Linked DNA regions of Homo sapiens: region 2 is linked to region 1. Evidence: promoter capture Hi-C in 16 types of primary human blood cells and fetal thymus (Javierre and others, 2016). All regions are on one chromosome and are shown on one strand. Each heading gives the region's core, a stretch centred on a gene start or on the middle of the fragment in contact. The rest is flanking DNA. Distances are from core to core; before and after follow the strand shown. Region 1 holds the start of NOLC1 (nucleolar and coiled-body phosphoprotein 1). Region 2 overlaps GBF1 (golgi brefeldin A resistant guanine nucleotide exchange factor 1).

Region 1 (3,585 bases), core at 499-2,998:
TTCTAAACTGCGACAGGTGTATACATTCATCATGTCAGTTATGTTCATCATTTTATAATAGCTTGAGCACACTGCATGGCACAGCAGGTGCTCAAATGTTTTAAATAATGCATGCATGTGGGTAGAACAGGAAGCGTGGGGAAGAGGGAACTGTGGAGTTTTTTGTTTCTGTTTTTGAATTTTTTTGTTTTGTTTTGGAGATGGAGTCTTGTTCTGTCTCCCAGGCTGGAGTGCAGTGGCACGATTTTGGCTTACTGCAACCTCTGCCTCCCGGGTTCAAGTGATTCTCCTGCCTCAGCTTCCTGAGTAGCTGGGATTACAGGCACCCGCCACCATGCCTGGCTAATTTTTTTTGTATTTTTAGTAGAGACAGGGTTTCACCATGTTGGCCAGGGCTGTTCTTGAACTCCTGACCTCAGGTGATCCACCCACCTTAGCCTCCCAAAGTGCTGAGATTACAGGCATGAACCACCGTGCCCAGCTTTGTTTTTGATTTTTGAGATAGGATCTCACTCTGTGGCCCAGGCTGGATTGCAGTGGCAGGATCATAGCTCATTGCAGCTTTGACCTCCCTGGCTCAGTTGATCCTCCTGCCCCAGCCTCCCAAGTAGCTGGGACCACAGGTGCATGCCACTACACCTGGCTAATTTTAAAAATTTTTTGTAGAGATAGGGGGGTTTCACTGTGTTGTCCAGGCTGGCCTCTTAACTCCTGGGCTCAAGGGATCCTCCCACCTAGGCCTTCCAAAGTGTTGAGATAACAGTTGTGAGCCACTATGCCTGGCCAATTTTATATAGGAGAGGGGGGTGTGTTCCCATGAGGATCCTTATCTTTCCTGAGCGGCATTAGTGGGAGGTAGCCAAGGGGTAGTGGGTAGGATTGAAGGGATTGCTAACTGCTAATATCTGGAATGTGGCAGAACTTGGAATTAACTTGGTAGGTCTGAGCATTGATACTGGAGTTACTCATGACAAAGGCATTGATACTGGAGTTACTCATGACAAAGGCAGAGTGTGAACTCTGATCCCGGAGGAAGAAGGGTTATTTTCAACAATCTCTTCAGCTTGAATAGATTGTTGCTGTGTGTGATTCAGGTTTGGTGCATGACACCTTTCCTCTTCATGGAGCTGACCTAAGGCGGAATATAAGGGAGATGGGAGGGGCAGCTTGGGAAATCAACACCTCCCACCCTCACGACGGATAACCCGAAGGATCTTCTGCAGCAGAGGCAGGAGTCTGGAGGCTGGGATGGTATCAGAAAGGGCCTCCCTGGGTATTGGAGGCAGTGAAGATGAAGGGCGAGAATCCATTGGCCGTGCCAGTACGCCATGGGGGCGGTTGGGAGATCTTGTAGAACAACTGTTCGAGCCCGCTTGTCCACTCATTACTCTGGAATCCGAGTCCCAGCAGGGGCGCGGGAAACCGCTGCTCTGAGAAAAGGTACCTCCCCCAGAAAGACTGCGCGGGAAGTCCCGAGTTTTCCCGCCACGCCGAGGGCGTGATCCCTGACGTCAGAGCTCCGCCTCCACAAGCTGGCGGCCGGTGGGCTCCGCCCTTAACCAAGATGGCGATACGCGTGGGACCGGAAAGAGTTTATAGATTTCCCGTCTACCCTACCTCTGAGGTGAAGGTGGGACTGCCCTGTGGAGCCCACCCTTTCCGTTATGCGCCCGCGCGGCGCAATGACGTAACACAGGCCCGCCCACTGCCCCTGTTGGGTTCCTGAGTCGTGCTGCGTCGACAACGGTAGTGACGCGTATTGCCTGGAGGATGGCGGACGCCGGCATTCGCCGCGTGGTTCCCAGCGACCTGTATCCCCTCGTGCTCGGCTTCCTGCGCGATAACCAACTCTCAGAGGTGGCCAATAAGTTCGCCAAAGCGACAGGAGCTGTGAGTTCCGGGCTTGGGGCGGGGACCGGGCTGAGATGACCACAAGGCTTCAGGCCCTGACGTGCTTAGGTTTCCAGGTGGGGAAGTCTGGGGGTCCGCCAGTCCAGTGTCTGCAAGGCCTTTACGCCGACCCCTCGGCAGTGACCAGAGAAAGCCTGCGGCCTCGGTCGCTTACCTTCCTCCATGTCTGAGTAGATATCGCTGAGTCTTGTTGCTTTTTTCTTGTGACCTGTGCAGCGGCGGCAGCGTGGGAGCCTCGTGGCCCCAAGCCACATGGCTGGCAGAGTGCAGCGGGGAGGTAGAGTCTTGTTCCACTGAGGACGTTGGTTCTTCGGCATCTTCTGGGGGGCTTTTCGTTGGGTGAGGCAAACCGTGATTTGACCTTAGCCTCAGTCACATTTACTGGGATTCAAAAGCAAGTGAAATTTCTTTAGAATGAAGTCTGGGATTTTCGTTTGTAAAGAAGAAAATGAATGAAAGTAGAAGCAGAGTTTTGTTTTGAGTTACACTGAGAATTGAGAGTCATCAACAGCCCTACCAAGTAGGCATAGTAGTGGGCTTGGAGCTTTGGCTAATTGAATCAAACAAACCTAGGTTTGGGACCAGGCTCTGCCACTTTTTAGATACGTGACCCGGGCAGTTTATTTAACCTTTCTGAGTCTTTCTACAGGGATGTCATCATCCACTTTATAGGATTTTTGTGAGTTTCAGTAAGATGATGTGTAAGAGTAGCAATCTCAGTGCTGGTACAGAGGAATCTTGTAAAAGTGAAAGCTGTACCATAGTTATGGCAATTTAGGATGCTCCAAACACATGTAAGAGTAAGAGAACCAGGAATGTGAAAGGTTTGTAATCTACATCAACGGACATTCCTGCATGGGAAGACACTTTGAGAGAGGAGAGAGGGGGGGTCTTCAGCAGGGATGATAGCATGACTAGGAAGGATGGCTTGCACTTTTAGCAGAATCAGGCTGCGAAAGCAAAGAATCAGATCAGCCTCAAAACTTCCTTAAGCTGGGACAGGCTGCCATGTGATCTAACTGCTTTCTTAATGAAACTGTTTAGAGTTGACTGTTAAGGAGACTGCGGAGAGTGCTTTCACAGTGGACTGGATGGAATTGGACATTTCAGAATTAGGATTCTTTTTTTTTTTTTTTTTTTTTTGAGACGGAGTCTCTGTTGCCCAGGCTGGAGTGCAATGGTGCGATCTCGGCTCATTGTAACCTCCGCCTCCCAAGTTCAAGTGATTATCCTGCCTCAGCCTCCCCAGTAGCTGGGATTACAGGCGCGTACCACCACGCCCGGCTAATTTTTGTATTTTTAGTAGAGATGAGGTTTCACCATGTTGGCCAGGCTGGTCTTGAACTCCTGACCTCAAGAAATCCACTTGCCTCAGCCTCTCAAAGTGCTGGGATTACAGGCGCGAGCCACCGTGCCCGGCCTCAGGATTAGGATTCTGAAATGGTTTTATGTGAGAAAAGCTAATCTTTGTGAAGAGCTAACTAAGGGTCAGATGCTACGCCCTTCACATGCATTTAATTTTTTTTTTTTTTTTTTTTGAGGCGGAGTCTGGCTCTGTCGCCCAGGCTGGAGTGCAGTGGCACGATCTCAGCTCACTGCAACCTCTGCCTCTCAGGCTAAAGTGATTCTCCTGCCTCAGCTTCCCAAGTAGCTGGGACTACAGGTGTGCCCCAC
Region 2 (3,424 bases), core at 566-3,065, 230 kb after region 1:
CTCCAGTTCTTCCTCTTTTACTAATTAGTTGGTCAGTTTGGAGAGTTGACTGGCACCATGGAGGGTAGGCAGGTGGGGGCTGGGTGGGGGACTGCCCACAGGAGCATGTACATATGGAAAAACAGAACAACAGTGGACTTTTTATGATATAATAAATGTCTTAGTACCAGCATCATTGTCTCTCCCTCCGGTTTCCTTCTTGAGCTTGTGGGTCAGGGCACCATGTTATCGGGTGCGCAGGGCTTGGACTTGGTGTGAGCAGAGGCTGAGCCTACCTAACACCACCACCCCCCTCCCCCACCCCGCCAGATGCTAGGCCGGGGGTCAGGATTCCTTCACTGCTGCTGACCCCTGCCCTGCCACAGGGTGTACCCTTGTCATCACAGGTGTGCCCAGGGGCTTGGGCAGTGGCTCGGGCAGTTGTCGTAATCTTCCCTAACAACTGTAACAAGGGAGACACGTGAGACAACCTGGCCTAGGTGAGAGGGAAGAGGAGTGAGGGCTGAGTTGTAGTTATTCAGAAGTCTTCTCTCAGATGTGTCTCACCATCCAAGAGACCAAAACAGCTGTTGGGGTTTCAGAGGAGCCCAAGAGTTCGAGGCTGCAGTGAGCTATGATTGTGCCACTGCACTGGAGCCCCCCTCTGTCACCCAGCCTGGAGTGCAGTGGCACAATCATAGCTCACTGCAGCCTCAAACTCTTGGGTTCAAGCAGTCCTCTCACATCAGCCTCCCAAGTATCTGAGACTAAGGTGTGCACCACCACACTTGGCTAATTTTTTGTGTAATTTTTATAAAGACAGGGTCTCACTATGTTGCCCAGACTGGTCTGGAACTCCTGGGCTAAAATGATCTTCCTGCCTAGGCCTCCCAAAGTGCTGAGATTACAGGCATGAGCCACTGCACCCAGCCCTGGGAAGGGTATCTTGCCCACAGCTGCAGTCATGGGTTTGGAGCCCAGGGCATTCATTTTGACCCCAAACTGAAAAGGGGTAACTTTTCCCAGCCCCACAAACCTCAAACCTCACTCACTGCAGCATGATTAGAGGACCCCTCTTCTCCTTTCCCTTGGCATCAGGGTAAGACAGGTGGGAAGTGTGTATGGGGCAGGCTGTGTGGCCCCTGCAGGGTGGAGGTGCTATGGGTGTGTGATACTGTGAAATAGATATTTGGTCTTCACCCCGTTTCCTGGCATAACTCTTAAAATCCTTAGAATCTCCAAAGTGATGTCCTTTAATATATGATTGACTGATAGCTGGCAGCCCCTATGTAGCTGCTGGATGGGGGCTGGTCACCAAAGCAGAATTAAAGGGTTGGGACTTTCAGGCTCAGCCCCCAACCTCCAGGGAGGGAAGAGGGACTGAAGGTTAAGTTGATCACCACTGTCCAATGGTTTAATCAACCGTGCCTATGTAAGGAAGCTTCTCTAAGAACCCAAAAGGGCAGGGTTTGGTGAGCTTCCAGAGAGCTGAACATGTAGGCTTACAGGAAGCCAAACGAGTGCATCCTTGTGCCCAGAGGGTGGCGCACCACAACTCCACGGGGACATCACTCCCGGGCTCTGGACCCTTTCAGACCTCACCCTATGTATGTCTTCATGGCTGGTTATTTGTATCCTTTATAATATTCCCTGTAGTAAACTGGTAAGTGTGTTTCCTTGAGTTCTGTGAGCTACTCTAGCAAACTAGTTGAACCCAAACCCAAGAAGGGGGTCATGCGAAGCCCAATTTATAGCTGGTCAGTAAGAAATACAGGAAAAACCACCTGAAACTTAACAATTGGCATCAGAAGTGGAGGCAATGACCGGGCACCATGGCACACACCTGTAATCCCAGCACTTTCAGAGGCGAGGCAGAAGGATCCCTTGAGGCCAAGAGTTCAAGACCAACCTGGGCAACATAGCGAGACCCTGTCTCTATTTAAAAAAAAAAAAAAAGCATTTTTGTAAAGAAGTAGAGTACAGTCCTGGGGAATGAGCCCTCAACCTATGGGACCTGGCACTATTTCCAATTAGATAGTGTCAGAATTGAATTGGAGGCCACCCAGCTGGTGTCTACTATAGAGCTGATTGCTTGCCTGGTGTGTGGGGGTTTTCCCACACACACACATTTGGTCACAGAAGTCTTCTGTGTTGATTGTTTTTGAGTGAGAAAATAGAAACACTTTGAAGGTGTTTTCCCCTCTCATGGTGGGATACAAAATGCTGGGTATTAAGCTTTCCCAAGTGAAGCATCCACATCATCTTGGTTTCCACCTCCGCAATGGTGCCTTCCCTTCCCTGGGGCACAGAGAACAGTGTGGCCCTGTTGTACTTCCAGCTGGCCTCCATCACAGAGAGTTAGGGGCACTCACCCCCTGCACTGGGGCCCAGCTGGCAGTATGATTCTCCAGCACCAGGCTTCCCTTTGCTCAGCACATGCACATGGCTGGGCATTTGGACCTCTGCAACGCCTCCCTCAGTGTAGAAAAAGGCACCTCAGAGTGGGAACAACCTGAAGTGGAAAAATACTGATATGAAACCGGAAGCTCTTAGGCTAATTTCTCCCTCTTCCCTTCCTTCTTCCTGAAGTCCAGGCCATGCCTGGTTTGCATACTAACCAGAAGTCTTGCCCAACCCTGCCCCTGGGAAAATTAGGAGGGGCAGAAAGCTCTATGTGTGTGCAGAAAAGCCTGGATCTACAGCCAGCTAGATACTGGGGCATTTGGCTTCAACTGTGGTGTCTCTGTTCTCCCATCTGAGCCCCACAAGCTCTGCCTTTAGAAGCTTCCATGTGTTTCCCTATGGGAGAAATAGTGTTAACTGCTGCAAATAAGTCTGAAGGCCATCCTATGAACAAAGAAATAGGACAGCTCTAATGTTCCTTATAAAACCAATCTCAAAAATTAGGAAAGAAGTGGGAACAGGAGTGGGGTGGGGTGCGGTGGCTCACGCCTGTAATCCCAGCACTTTGGGAGACTGAGGCAGGAGGATCGCTTGCCCAGGAGTTCAAGACCATGTATCTGTGGCCTAGCTACTTGGGAAGCTGAGGCAGGAGGAGTGCTTGAGCCTGGGAGGTTGAGGCTGCAGTGAGCTATGATGGTGCCGCTGTACTCCAGCCTGGCAACAGAGCAAGACTCTGTCTCAAAAAAAAAAAAAAAAAGCTGGAGCAATTGCAAACTGGCCGTCTCCCTGCTGGGAAGCAAAGAAAAACATTTGCTGGAAGTTGCATTCTGTTATTAAAAAGTAGCTGAGGCCCGGTGCTGTGGCTCACATCTGTAATCCCAGTACTTTGGGAGGCTGAGGTGGGAGGATCACTTGAGGCCAGGAGTTTGAGATCAGCCTGGGCAACATAGTGAGACCCCCATCTCTATTTTTAAAAATATTTCAAAAATATATTTAAAAAACAAAAGACCAGCTGATATGCGTGATTTGTATTATGGACAAT

The links. Contacts are between HindIII fragments. The CHiCAGO score rates a contact against its expected background, and 5 or more counts as called.
Region 2: a fragment that was not itself captured here is called in contact with the fragment with the promoter of NOLC1 in region 1 in 7 of 17 cell types (M1 macrophages, megakaryocytes, endothelial precursors and 4 more); the score reaches 9.9 in M1 macrophages.

Annotation. Positions count from the first base shown.
Region 1 is chr10:102,150,641-102,154,225 of GRCh38, forward strand. It overlaps NOLC1 (nucleolar and coiled-body phosphoprotein 1), which reads left to right and starts at 1,749. Exons shown (of 13, transcript NM_004741.5): 1 at 1,749-1,890. The coding sequence starts at 1,771. RefSeq lists enhancers at 1,235-2,434, 1,340-1,639, 1,810-1,859. The HindIII fragment of the contact is 8,659 bases long and covers 1-3,585 here.
Region 2 is chr10:102,382,725-102,386,148 of GRCh38, forward strand. It overlaps GBF1 (golgi brefeldin A resistant guanine nucleotide exchange factor 1), which reads left to right. Exons shown (of 40, transcript NM_001377137.1): 40 at 1-172. Among named protein-coding and RNA genes, the nearest start is that of NFKB2, 11 kb to the right of the region's middle. The HindIII fragment of the contact is 794 bases long and covers 1,419-2,212 here.